Linked DNA regions of Homo sapiens: regions 2 and 3 are each linked to region 1. Evidence: promoter capture Hi-C in human tissues and cell types (Jung and others, 2019). All regions are on one chromosome and are shown on one strand. The core of a region is centred on a gene start or on the middle of the fragment in contact, and the rest is flanking DNA. Distances in the headings are between cores, read along the strand shown.

Evidence for each region. The method cuts DNA at HindIII sites, captures the fragments that hold promoters and counts their contacts. A contact is called where the count stands out against the background at its distance.
Region 2: a fragment that was not itself captured here is called in contact with the fragment with the promoter of DRD2 in region 1 in 2 of the 25 tissues and cell types used here (H1 embryonic stem cells and adrenal gland).
Region 3: a contact is called between a fragment that was not itself captured here and the fragment with the promoter of DRD2 in region 1, in 2 of the 25 tissues and cell types used here (bladder and mesenchymal stem cells).

The regions. Positions count from the first base shown.
Region 1 is chr11:113,471,877-113,476,669 of GRCh38, reverse strand. It overlaps DRD2 (dopamine receptor D2), which reads left to right and starts at 1,272. Exons shown (of 8, transcript NM_000795.4): 1 at 1,272-1,594. LOC105369501 (a long non-coding RNA gene) reads left to right here. Exons shown (of 6, transcript XR_948024.2): 6 at 817-1,141. The HindIII fragment of the contact is 27,627 bases long and covers 1-4,793 here.
Region 2 is chr11:113,621,089-113,625,579 of GRCh38, reverse strand. The region is part of intron 1 of LOC107984390 (a long non-coding RNA gene); the gene reads left to right. Among named protein-coding and RNA genes, the nearest start is that of TMPRSS5, 83 kb to the left of the region's middle. The HindIII fragment of the contact is 9,626 bases long and covers 1-4,491 here.
Region 3 is chr11:113,319,848-113,324,030 of GRCh38, reverse strand. TTC12 (tetratricopeptide repeat domain 12) reads right to left here. Exons shown (of 22, transcript NM_017868.4): 3 at 580-743; 4 at 16-37. Among named protein-coding and RNA genes, the nearest start is that of TTC12, 7.4 kb to the right of the region's middle. The HindIII fragment of the contact is 4,616 bases long and covers 1-3,558 here.

The sequences.
Region 1 (4,793 bases), core at 23-2,522:
ATTTGCAAGGACACTCCATCTCTCTGGGACTCAGTTCTCCCTTCTGAGGTGAGGCGGAATTGGATGAATGTTAAGGTCCTTTCCAGCCCTCACTTTCTATAATTGTGTGTGTCATTGGAGGAAATGCTGAGATGAAGTTAATCCTTGTGGCCCAGAGAGGCTGGATTCCAGCCATGCAGGGCCGACTCCCTGCTCTGCAGAGTCAGTCCTCTGCCCCTGCTCTTCCCTCTCCCTGGAGTGTTGTGCCACCTTCTCCCCTTGGGAACTGGTGTTGCTCCTTCAATGCCCGGTTCCTGTAAAGTCTCGCTTTTTTGTGCTTCACAGCACCTGTTTAAGCCTCAGTTATTTCCCTGGGGGTCCCCTCTCTGGATTGCCAGGGTGCGGGATCAGGGGCCTGGTTTTCTTTCTGTGTGTGACTTCTGAATCTGACACAGAATCTGGCAAACTGAGGACAGTTGGTAACTAATTGCTGCAGAAGAAAGAAAAGAAAGAGAAAGAAAGAAAAAGAAAGGAAGGAAGAAAGAAAGAAAGAAAGGAAAGAAAGAAAGAGAAAGAAAGAAAGAAAGAAAGAAAGAAAGAAAGAAAGAAAGAAAGAAAGAAAGAAAAGAAAAGAAAAGAAAGAAAAGGAGAGAGGAAGAAAAGGGGAGAAGAACGAGGTTCCTCTGCAGCCCAAATGACAGTGGGCAGGGTAGCAGCGGAACACCCTTCACCACTCTATCTCTTTCTCCCTCTCCCCACTCCCTGCCTCACACACCTCAGTTTGGAGTCAAGGGTGAGCTGGAACCCCTGAGGCCTCCTTTTGCATTTCCATGTCAGGTCAACTCCAAACAGGCTTTTTCCTTTGGATGAGTCCAGCAATAGAACTGACTACATAGATTCCAAGACCTGAAGTCAGAAAACGGATGCGGACCTCTTCCAACACCTCCTCTCCTTGCCTGACTTGCTGGATGGGTGGTGCCTCCCGCAACCCTTGGCTTCTGAGTCCTCAAAGGAGAAGACTGGCGAGCAGACGGTGAGGACCCAGCCTGCAATCACAGCTTATTACTCTGGGTGTGGGTGGGAGCGCAGTGGGCGGTCGAGGGTTGCGTTCCCGCCTCAAAACAAGGGATGGCGGAATCCCCCAACCCCTCCTACCCGTTCAGGCCGGGGATCGCCGAGGAGGTACAGCTCCTTTGGTGGGGGGCGGGGGCGGGGCCTGTCTCAGGGGCGGGGACCGGGGCACCTCCCTCCCGCGCTCCCCGCGCTCGGGCGCCGCAGAGCTGTCCAGCTTCAGTGCCGAACCGGCAGCCTCACGCGCGCACCGCGCCGCCTCCGCCCCGTCCCCGCGCTCCCTCCTGCCCGCCCGCCCCGCGCCCGGCCCCGCCCCGCCCCGCCCCGCCGCGGCCCGTCCACTGCTCCCCGCGGGCCAGAGCCGGCCGAGCTGCTGCCCGCCGGGGCTCTGAACGGCGCGGCGGGGCCGGGAGCCAGGGACCGGCCGAGGAGAGTGGCGGCCCCGGACGGCTGCCGGAGGGGCGGCCGCGCGTGGATGCGGCGGGAGCTGGAAGCCTCAAGCAGCCGGCGCCGTCTCTGCCCCCGGGCGCCCTATGGCTTGAAGGTAAGCACCGGCCGGATGGAGCGGCGGGCGACTCAGTGTCACGGGGAGAGGAGGAGGGACCTCCAAGGGGAGCGAGGCCAGGACCAGAAGTTTGTGCGGCCACTCCTGGCCGCCTGCTCGGGAGCGCCCGCCTGGGATCCGGCTCTGCATGGGCTCCCCGTCGGGCGGGGGCAGAGGGCGTCTGGAGCCCGCGGCTGCTATCCCCTCTCCCTCCTTCTCAGTAGCCTCCTCGCCACTTAGAAGGGAATCCTCTCCCCGAGCACGAGCGGGCGCAGCTGGGGCAGCCTCCCCGCGGGGCGCCCAGGGCAGCACGGCGGAGCCGCGGCATCGGAGGGCGGGAGGGAGGCCGCTCCCCACAATCTCGGGAGGGCACTTCCCCCAGCACCCAAGCGCGAGACCCGGGGCTCGCGGCCAGAGTTTCCGACTTCTTCCGGAGGAAGAAGGGCTGTTTTTGGCAACTCTGTGTTGGTGCGACCTGACCCTTTTCAGTTTCTAAGGCAGAAGCTAAGGATGGGGGAGAGGCAGATTCTGGCTGGATTCTCCCGCTCCCACGGTTGCCGCTGTCCTTGGTCCTGAACTTTCGTTCTCCTTCGCCTTCTCTTGGGTTGACACCTAGTCGGGGAGGGAGGCTTGGGTGCCAGACCCGTTTCTACCCGGCAGTGCAGGCGACGGTGGCGGCAGTAGCGGAGGGTGACCGCCCGGCTCTCGGCCCGGCTCTATGATGGACCGAGAGCCCCTCTAGGGTGGTATGCGGAGACAAGAGACACCTCTAAGCACCAGACAGAGCGCTTCCCTATCCCTGTCTGAGGCGGGCAGCCCTTGAGTGCTTCCTCTTGAAGAGCAGAGGTAAGAGGGTGCGTGTGCGTCTACATAACAGGCTTCACCATGGACACAAGTCACAGCAGTGCAGCTCCGTGGGGACAGGCGCTTGCTCTCAGCCACAAGGAAGCTGTCTGAGCAAGTCACTGTTGCCCCACCTGACACCCCACTACTTTTTTTTCGGTGGCTCTTGAGGTTGGGTGAGGGGGTGAGGGAGTGAGGTGCAAGGCACTTTGTGGATCCCACTCCAGATCCTTCTGCAGATCCAAGCCTTTCTGTATTTTGACCAGGCTACAAACCTTTTAGGCCAATCCTTGCTCCTCCTTAGGGAGCTAGATGTTCAACGATTCTCCCCACTCCCACCCTGCTTCAAATGCAAATATGCATGCTTATCTCTGATTCATCCTGCAGCATTAGGACCACTTGAAAAAGAAATCATGCTTATCGTCTTTCCCTCATGCAGCTGTTTGATGAGGGTGGCCAGATAGAGAGACTGTGGTCAGCATGACCAGTTTCAAGAAAATCAGCAAGCTGCTTTCCTGGGTTTCAGTCCCTGCCTTGGACTTCCCTCCTTAGTGTTCAAAATTCCTGGATTATTTGTTGCAGGGGGTTTTGATGCCATCTCTGAATGCAGACATCTGACAAGGAAGTGGTTTGGGAGGGTTAGACCTAGAACCAAATGAGGGCCAGGGTAGTCCCAGCTCTTAAAGATCATTGAGTTCCTTCTACCTTCCCTGCACAGCCTGAGGTGCCCAGAAAGTGGAGAGGTTCTGATTTGTTGTAGAAGTCCGGGCAGCATTTCTCTAAGGGTTTTTTTCTTTTTAATGAATTCCCTGAGAAGCTGGTTAAAAATGCGTATTTTTGCTTCTTCCTTGAAAAACTGCTGAATGAGAATCTCAAGCGGAGGCCCAGGAAATTTATATTTTAACAATGTTTCTGAGTGATTCATGTGTACACTGAATTAGCAAATTACCTCCCAAAAAGTTGAGACTCCTTAGAGAGTCTGTATACATTTATTTTATTTTGAAAATGGAAATCAAGTTTATTTTACATAAAATTGGTAGCAGGTATTCTATCTGAGAAAATCCCTTGAAGATATAAAAATGCATTTCTAAGAGTTAAAAGAATCATGTACCTTGGCAACCATTTGCTGATATCTTAAATATTCCTAAATTTCATACATTTGAAATTTATAAAATTAAGGTATTTAATCTCACCCTTTGTCTCCTGCTGTTATACCTGTTAAATTCTTCAAGTGTGAGACTCTTGGTAGAAAGACCATCCCCCTGATTAAATCTTTGCTGAAATTAAGGATGCAATCCAATCTCCTCTCCCCCAGGATCTTCCTGGGCTTTTCTTCTTTCTAAAATTTTTGGCCCTTTTAAGGAATCACCAATATGGCTTCAGGTTGACTTATGTAAATACTAACTGTCCCTCTATGGGGGTCAACTCAGTGTTTCCCTCCTGCCCTCCCCTCTGGGTGAGTTATTGTCTTTCATTATGCATGTGCTGTGATCTGTTAACCTAAGTGCTCCTGAAATGCCAAGGAGTGATTAGTTCAGCCTAGTAGCACGTCATGCTCCCCAAGGCTGGTAGCCACTCATGCCCTGCTGGAAGTGACATATTGACTGTATTGATTTGGTTCTTTTGTTCCATAAGCAAGGAGGCTTGTAGGGGTAAAAAGGCTAGTAATGATGCTTGTGGGCTAGTTAGTCTTGTACCTTCACCTACAAAGGTGGATTATTTCTGTCTAGAAAATGCAATTATCTTGAGAATGATATAGGAGAATCTGAAATTGAGACAAACGCTTCTGTTCTTTCTTTGATACTATGGGAAACAAATGGGAACTTAGGGTCATTAGAAATATGGCCTCACATACTCCTGAGATTGTCTTGCTGAAGCCGGACTGGTCTGGGGTCACCATTCTCTGAATAAACAAGTATAAGGGGAAAGACGTGGGGACTCTGCCTGGAGAGAATGGTTTCCATCTCCCCTGCAAGTAAAAGTTACATTTTAGTGTTAACAAAAAAGTGTGGCTGTGAAGATAGCACTGTGTGTATGTGTATGTGTTTGTGTGTGTTTGCATACACGTGCATGCACACATATGAGCACATCGCCCAGGAGAGACAGATATGATGAGACTTCCTTGAGCCAATCCTGTGTTGGCACCCACCACTTCTCCCCGCTTTGTGGCTTAATACCTATGAATCTCCAACAGTGAAGGTGCCTCAACACCTAGGAAGAGAGAAGAATCAAGTTGAGGTTTTATAATGCCAGAACCCTAAGTCATATTTGTAATATCTCCCAGAATCAAGTTATATATCAGCAGGCTACAGTTACCTAAGAGTTGAGGTCTTGAAAATAGCTTAGAACAGCAGCC
Region 2 (4,491 bases), core at 1,175-3,674, 150 kb before region 1:
TAGGGTCACCACATAATTTATTACACAAACTGAAGCAGTTTTGGGAGTGAAAGAGAGGCTATAATTACACTGGGAACAGACTCCTAAGGCAACAGGGAGATGGGGTCACCCTTGAGAGGGCCCATATTTTACATGTTGGGGTATGGAGGACAGCATTAGGTTATCAGAAAACCACAAAAGGCTTTTATGTAGACAACTACTAAGATATTTTTGAAACAACTCACTGGAAGAAAGAAATAAAAGGAAAACGTACTTGCATAAATTTGGCTATTCAAGTTCTGCTTTGAGGTAATGGTAAATCTCCCAAACCGAATGGTAAAGAAGTTCCCATTTGCCTGCATGGTTCACTCCTTTCTGTTTGAATATTAAACCATCATAACCTTAATACCTATTGCTAGGGGCTCGATTTTCATGTTCCTCCAGAATTCCTATGTTGAAAACCCCCAAGTTGATGGTAGTAGGAGATGGGGCCTTTGGGGGTGATTAGGTAATGAGGATGGAGCCCTCATGAATGGGATTAGTGACCTTATGAAAGAGATCCCTGAGAGCTGCCTTGCCCCTTCCACCAAGTGAGGGCATAGTGGGAAAGTGTCATCTATGAACCAGAAAGTTAGCCCTCTTCAGATGTCAAATCTGCAGGAGCCTTGACCTTGGACTTCCCAGCTTCCAGAACTGTAAGAAATAAATTTCTGTGGTTTCTAAGCCACCAGAATATGGTATTTTGTTATAACTGTCTGAGCAGACTAAGACATCGATTCACAAGCAACATGGACAAAGGCTGGAGGGGTTAGCGAATGTGAAACCCTCTAGAGCAGGAGCTGGGGCTGAGGAGGAGAAGCAGGTAGGTGCTCTAGGTCGCCCTCAGAGTACCCCTCTCTCCTCGCCACCACCTGCAGGCTCCTCAGGGATGCTCTTCCTCCAGCCATGGGCCCTTCAGACAAGAAACGTGCTGCCCCTGCCTTTCTACCCACCTTTTCTCCACAAGAAGTGCCCAGAGAGCTCCAAGCATTGAAAGGCAAGTGTCCTGTGGAGGTTTCCTCTGGACCCCTGGCTGCTTTTCAAAACATATAGGAAAAGACTCTAATACATTTAACTTTGAATATTTACCTAAACATCCCAAAATTTTGATTCTCACTGGCTGCTCTGAAGTGTTTGGTCCACAGTGAGCCATTTTCCATACTCAGTGAGTGCAGGTGCTGGACAGGCTGTTTCCATGAACCAAGTTGACAGTCTAAGAGCAAGAGGCATGGGTGCCTGTCTGCCTGTTGAAACCCTCTTCCAAAGACCACTGGGAAACCATGCTCCCTCTTTCATGGCATGTTTAATAATGCTTAAAACAATGCTCTTTCTTTCACGGCATGAGGGAGCATTGTTTTGACAGAGACTCAGTGGTGGCTCAAAATGGGGAAGTTAATGGGTTTTTGTGATAGAGTGGTCATAGGGTAGAAATTTGTGAGTGAAGTCTGGACTGGGGTTGGTCAGAATTTATAAACAAAGTGAATTTCTGGAATAGTCAGGGGTCTTGTCTCTAAAGCCTGAGTCCAGAGTCACTGCTGAATCCTTTTCCCCGTGGTCTTGGCATCAAGCCTCTGTGCATACAACACACCAGTGTGCTGGTCTTAAAGTAGTTTGATCTTTGCTGGTGTTGCAAGATATGGTTTGATACAATTAATCTATTTTGCAGGTCATAATACAGTTTTGCAGTTTGTAGTTTCAGTTGTATTTCTTACTTCAGAGGAAAGGAGAATAAATCTCCAAAGAGCTGCCTCTCCTCTTATTTAGTCCAGGAACAAATCCCTAATGGAAGCAAGAATGAACATTTGTTTCCACTGGGAATGTCCCATCATTCACTGCCTCCTCATGCTCCACCAAAGTTTCAATCTTCTGGCTGAGTCAGGGATCTTCGACAACCTGGCCTCCACCATCCACCACCCCCGATCATCACTTACCACCTCCATTAACATAACCCAACTTTCATCACCATCACCCACCATCACCCTGCCCACTTCCATGGCCCACCCCATCACCAACCCCACCACTCCCAACCAGTACCACTTATAAAACAAGCACTGTGTGCCAGGAACTGTGCTATGTGGGTTTGCCATGCTCATTTTATTTCATCTCCATTCCAGCTTTTTGATGTGAATTAGTGGTTCTTAACTAGAAAGATATTGATGCCTGGCTTCTCGCCCAGAAGTACTGAATCAGAAGTTGTTGAATTAGGGCACAGGAATCTGTATCTTACAAATATTTCAAATGATTTTGATGCACAGATAACATTTGAGAACCACAGATGTAAACAATATTATCTTTGTTATACAGATGGGCCAAGGGAGAGGAGATTAAAAATGATTTCCCTTGCAATTCTAAGAAAGGCTATTTTGAAGATGTTTGGGGAATAGTCTTAAAGAACCAAGAACAGTGGCTGGGCACAGTGGCTCATGCCTATAATTCCAGCAATTTGGGAGGCCGAGACAGGAGAATTGCTTGAGCCCAGGAGTTCAAGACCAGTCTTGGCAACATAGTGCAAACCCATCTCTACCAAAAATACGAAAATTGGCCAGTCTCAAAAACCAGTCTCAGAATAAATAAATAAATAGATTAAAATTAAAAAATAAAAAATTATATTAGAAAAAGAATCAAGAAGAAATAATTACTTCTGTTTAATGAACAGCGAATCTATTGTTGATTTCATTTTACAGAGGAAGGAACTGAAGCCCAGAAAGGTTAGATCAATTTCCTAAGGTCACATAGCTCATGAGGGGAGAACCTGGGTTCAGAAGCAGATCCTCCTGACCCCACATGCTGTGCTCTTTACTGGATACCACGGTGGTCTCCAGGAAGCCCCTCTCAGGGTGGCCTACGTGTTTCTTTGTTTTACAGACATACTGACCATATTTCAGCTTCTACACCTTGGAAACACAGTTTTCCCTCCAAGAACGATGTCCTCTCTGCTGTCCTGGCTTTTTCAACCGTGGAGTGTCATTGTCACCTTCCTTCTTCCCCAGCAGCTCCTCTTAACACCCCAACAGGCCTCTGTCCTCCCTGGTACCCAGGCGTAAGATGTCAATATATTTTCTCTTTTTTTCCTTTTCTCCAGCTATACCTCCTTTTTCAATATATTTATTTCCCCTGTCTTTCTCCAATTTCACTGCTATTGCTCCAGGTCCTCACACTTTCTGAATCTTTGTAAAGCCCTCTAACTGGCTTATTGACACCTCCAGTTTCTTCCGCATGTTTTCCACCCTGCACTCAGTAAAAGATTTATCTTCTAAAAATGCTTTTGTTGTCACTCCTGGCTCCAAAACCCTATGAAGCCCTAACTGTTCATCCAAAGCCCTCCCCAAGAGGGGCAAGTCTACAGATTTATTAAAAAACAAATAAATTATAACAAACCTGATTTTGTTTTAAAATTCCTACACAAACAGCTAAGCAATTCTGACATTCTACTCAATATTTGGACTCTTACTGAAACACTAATGGATTCTCTTCAACACATGTCAGTGTTAAAAATCACAGTGAATGTGGACATAAACACATGCTCTAATTTTGTATAACACAACACATAATATTTATTGTTTCCTTTCTTAGAAATCAATTTATATGTAATTTCTGTGATTTTTGTAATATCTAGTTCAGTATCTAGCTCTCAAAATATCTAGTTCAGTATCTAGCTCTCAAAAGTATCTTTTATGTGTGCTCTTTGCTGCTTCAAGAAATAGTTTTTTTACTTTATGTCCCACTTGAGATAATATATCTAAACTAGTACAATCATATGTACTTACTCAAATCTAGTAAGTGTATAAATTAGGACCATTAATCCTAATGAGAAAGCTATAACCAACATTTATACATTTATATAAAAAGGAATCTTTAACTGGTTCAAGAAACACCTAAATACTGAATATATCACTAACACCCCCCTCAACCCTTGCAAATAATTAACTGTTGGATTACATTAACAATTCTCTAATTTCAGATATGATTTTCATTTCTGTTATAATGCAGGACTTTAATTCACGAGTTGTTAAATTAGTTTATAAACATAGTGTAAAAACCAACACACTTTAAATGCTATTTTCTGGCAGAACGCCATTCTGTGCATCAGAGTGACCCTGAGTAATATACGAGCAATTACTTTCACTCACTCTTGTCTCAAATGCTCAGAAAGTCTCACCTTTTTGACTTCCTGGGCTGAATTCCAGCCTGGAGTATGTGTTAGGGACAGTTATCTAGCCACTGAGATGAACAACCCTCAAATCTCAGTGGTTCATCACACAAAATTTTTGTTAATGGGATGTGTCTTATTCTATTGGGCAGCTTCACTCCAGGTGGTGTCTCAGGGACCCAGGCAGGCTCCTTTTTCCTTATGGCTCTGCTAACTGTTCAGGTGGGACATCTATTGTGGGACTTGCTGAGGACCAGGCCCAGAAGTGACACACATCATTTTCTCCTGTATCCTACAAGCCAAGACTTCAAAGCTTGGCCAAC
Region 3 (4,183 bases), core at 1-2,500, 150 kb after region 1:
AGATGCTGTCCTTACCTGAGTTTATTTCTTCTGCACTCTGTAGACGTAGGTTACCATAAAAACAAAGAAACAAATTTCAAAAACCACTCTAATTTATATGTATATAAACCAAGAAGGCAAATCAATTACAAACAAGAGGTCATTTCTTTTAACCATCAAAACTGAAGGGCTCAGAATTCATGGGGCTTGCTTTAAATCAGGAGATCTGAGTATGGGCACAATTGCTATGGGACCGAGTCTGCAAAACAAGGCTGCCCAGGTCAAGGGACCTCAGCTGTGGCTTATGAGTTGGAAATGAGTTAGAATACATTACCTTAAAGGTACAGCTTAAATATATCACACAAGCTCAGGGGGTGGAGAGGGGAAATTTCCATTAAAATAGATCCAAAGGGTTGTTTAAAGATAACCCAGAAAGATCAAAGGAAAAAAAAAATCAAATTTTATACTTTCTTATAAAAAATAAATCTAAGAAACAAAAGACCATTTCAGCCTTGCTGGACAGTTTGAGATTAAACTACTGCCTAGGTGTAGGTCTTCTCACTGTAAGTACTTATATAACTTCTCAATAGAAAAAGAAACCTTCATAGCAGTTTGTGGAGGACTGATCATAGTCTTGTTCAAGGTGGTCCTGCATTCATCCTCCTCCTGGTCTTCCTCCATAAGCAGTAGTCTCTTTTCTGTCTCCAGGACAGCTTTCTGTTGCACAACTGGGTCATCAGAATTCATCTCCTGAATTAAATTGGCTAGAGAAGAAATCAGGTGTGACTTAATCAAACAAGATATTCAAAAGACTCTATTCACTAGAAAGGATGGTGCATAAAATGCATGGGAAAGATCTTAAAGAAAAAAATAGAGCAATAGAAAGCAAAATAGAGCAAGCAGAACCAATGAGAAAAAATTAACAACAGGTTTTTTTTTTTTTTTTTTTGCCTAGAAAAAGTTGCAGGTGAGTATAGCTATTAGCTTTAAGGAACAGAGTTTTAAGCCATTATTCAATTCAACAATAATTTATGGAGAGCTCATTATGAGTTAGATATTATGCTGATGCTATAGATAACAATGATGAATAAAAAAAGATCCTTTTTTGAAGAGTTTATGAACTTGTGTGGGAGACAAACATGTAAGTACAGGCAGCTCAAAATCGCAAAACAGCAGCCCTTAACCCTATCCTCACCTGTCTTCACTTTACTGCTTATCCAGCTTAGATTCCATGGTCAATCACTCAGCAGCCATCCTGCCCATATACTCAACTCCCTTGCCCTGCTATCTCACCTAACAGACAAAATTCCAGCTCTACATAATTCCAATTACCCAATTCTACCAGTCTGCATTAGGAATGCTATGTACTGAGGGAGACAGATAGATGCCTGGGGGACTGGTCCAAACTCAAACTCAACTGGACCTTCAGTGATGCCCAGCAATCCTTGTTATCCTGGGCAAGATATCCTGTCACTCCCCCAATGACTTTTAACAGTTTGCAATCTAAACCTGACCATCTCAAAAAGATGCCCTTATTTATCAATTCAGAGAGGAAAGAGATGCCATCGACTTCCTGCTATTAAAACTACAAAACTGCCTATACCTACATCCATCCTTCCTTACTACCAGGAAAAGGTGCCCATTCTTCTGTAAGGTTAGTCCCTCATCCTGGGCCCAGGATTCCATTGTCATATTTTGCATAATCAGGAACGCTGCATCACCAATTAATAATCCTATTGCGCAATATTTTCAACCTATTCCATTCGACCAGCTTCCTTCTAAATTATGTACTTTAAATCTCTCCTAATGCTCTGTCTCCTCCCCTTCACAATTAAACTTCTTAATTCATTTTCCTGTTCTAATTTCTTCATTTCCCACTGAGTCTTCAAGGAAATTATAAATTTTTAATTGTACAATATTTCAAGCATACCGAAAGTAATATAATATTTTTGTTTCTATGCCATTTATAAGTTGATGGTATCTTTTCTCCAGCATGCTTTAATACTTAGTATTTGTATCATTTAGATTTTGCTGCATCACACACCACATCAAAACTTAGTGGTTTGAAACAAACCACCATTTTTGTGGCTTAGTTTACAATTATCTATGTCAACAATTTGAGCTGAATTCAGCTGGCCAGTTCTGGTTTCAGCTGGACTCACACATATATCCATGGTCAACTGTCAGTCATCTAAGTGGCTCTGCTTTAGAAAGTCTGCTGGCTGTTGGCTTGAGAAATGCAAGCAACCCGGGTAAGTGTGTCTTACTTTCTCATGAGTGGTATGAGTGCAAGCCCTAATTCAAATGCACTTTTCAAGCCTCTGCTTGTGTCATGTTTGCAAACATCCTTTTGGCCAAAGCAACACACATGGCCAACCCAGATTCAAGTGGCAGAGAAATAGGCTCCACTCTTGATGGGAAGAAAGGAATTTGTAACCATTCTTGCAATCTACCAGAATATTTGTGTATGTAATATTTAAACAATTTTTTAAAATAGTTGTATAAAATGTGCATTCATTTGCAACCTACTTTTTTCTCTTAAGATGCTTTAGAGATGTGTTCTTGATACACATGGTTCCAGTTGATTCATTTAAACCATTATATATACCATAGTTAATCCATTCTCTTATTGATAGCCAGGTGGTTTTTCAGTTTTTTCTAAAGTAAATAAATGCTGAATTGAATACCTGTATGTACATATTTCCTTGTGCACATGTTACATATCCTTCAGGATATGGCTGTACCAATTTTTACTCCTACAAAAGAGTACAAGAGGAAGTTCCCATTCTTCTACATTCTTATCATCACTTGCTGGGTTAAACTTTTTAATTGTTGTCAATGTAATGGATGGGAATGGTATCTCATTGTTTTAATTTGCATTTCGCTGAATTTGATTGGAATTGAGCATCTTCTTATTGATTTGCACCCATTTGGATTTCTACGAAGAGCCTACTCCTATCCTTGGCCAATTTTCTATTGGGTCATTGTCTCTTTCTTATTAGTTAATATAATTTCTTTTTTAAAAAATTCTTTTTTTTTTAAGAGATGGTCTTGCTATGTTGTCCAGGCTCGATTTGAACCCCTGGGCTCAAGCGATCCTCCTGCTTCAGCCTCCTGAGTAGCAAAGACTACAGGCACACACCACCATGCCTGGTTGATTTGATTGTGAAACAGGGGAGTTCTCTGATCCCCCTCGCAGGACATGCGACAGGGGTGTGGCTTGCCTGTTTAGTCACCACCACTGCTCAAACCCCTGAGGGGAGGGGGAGAACGCAGACGGACAAGTGCAGGAGCCCAGTTGGGCACGTGTTACAGCGTGTCCTTTTAGCCCTGCCATCTGCGGACGACTTGATTGTTAACCAGCTTGACGGACATCTGCCTTTTCACAAGGGCAGAGGGAAGTGACAGCTTTTTGTATCCCGAGCTCTTGCCCAGCATCCCCGGAAGAATCAGGTCACACACAGGACTAAAGGATGAATGTGGGGTTTTACTGAGTGGTGGAGGTGGCTTTCAGTGGGATGGATGGGGAGCTGGAAGGGGGAATGGAGGGGAAAGATGATCTTCCCCTGGAGCCTGGCCATCCAGTGGCCCAACTCCCCTCTGGCTGCTCCCAGCCAAACTCCTCTCGGCGTTCAGACATTCCTCCTCTTTTCTCTACTGTGTCGTTCTGCCATTTGTCTGCTTGTGTCCTCATCTCACCTGCTCGTCTGCTTCTGGAGCCTGGGGTTCAGAGTTTACATGGGCACAGGATAGGGGAGCATGGCAGGCCAAAAGGCAACTTTTTGGGCACGAAAACAGAAATGCCTGTTTCCACTTAGCGCTGCAGATCTCCCGGCTTGAGGGTGGGGTCTTTGCCAGGGAACCACCCTCTTCTATCCACTATTCCCATCTCCTACCCGTATCAGTTGTATATATTCTGGACTGGTTACATGTATTTCCAAACATCTTCCCCTTGGGTATTCTTTGTCTTTTCATTTGTTTTTATGGAATATGTTGTTGAAGAGATTTTCTTTTTAATTTTAGTGTGTTAAATATACCATCTTTTCCTTTACAATTTAGGTCTTTTGTGTCAGTAAGGTTATAAATATACTCTCTTATGGTGTCTTATAAAAGTTTTAAAGTTTTTTTCTTACTAAGGTATGTAATTCACCTAGAGTTGACTTTCACGTAGGGCAGGAGCATTATTTGTTGAGAAGTCCCTGCC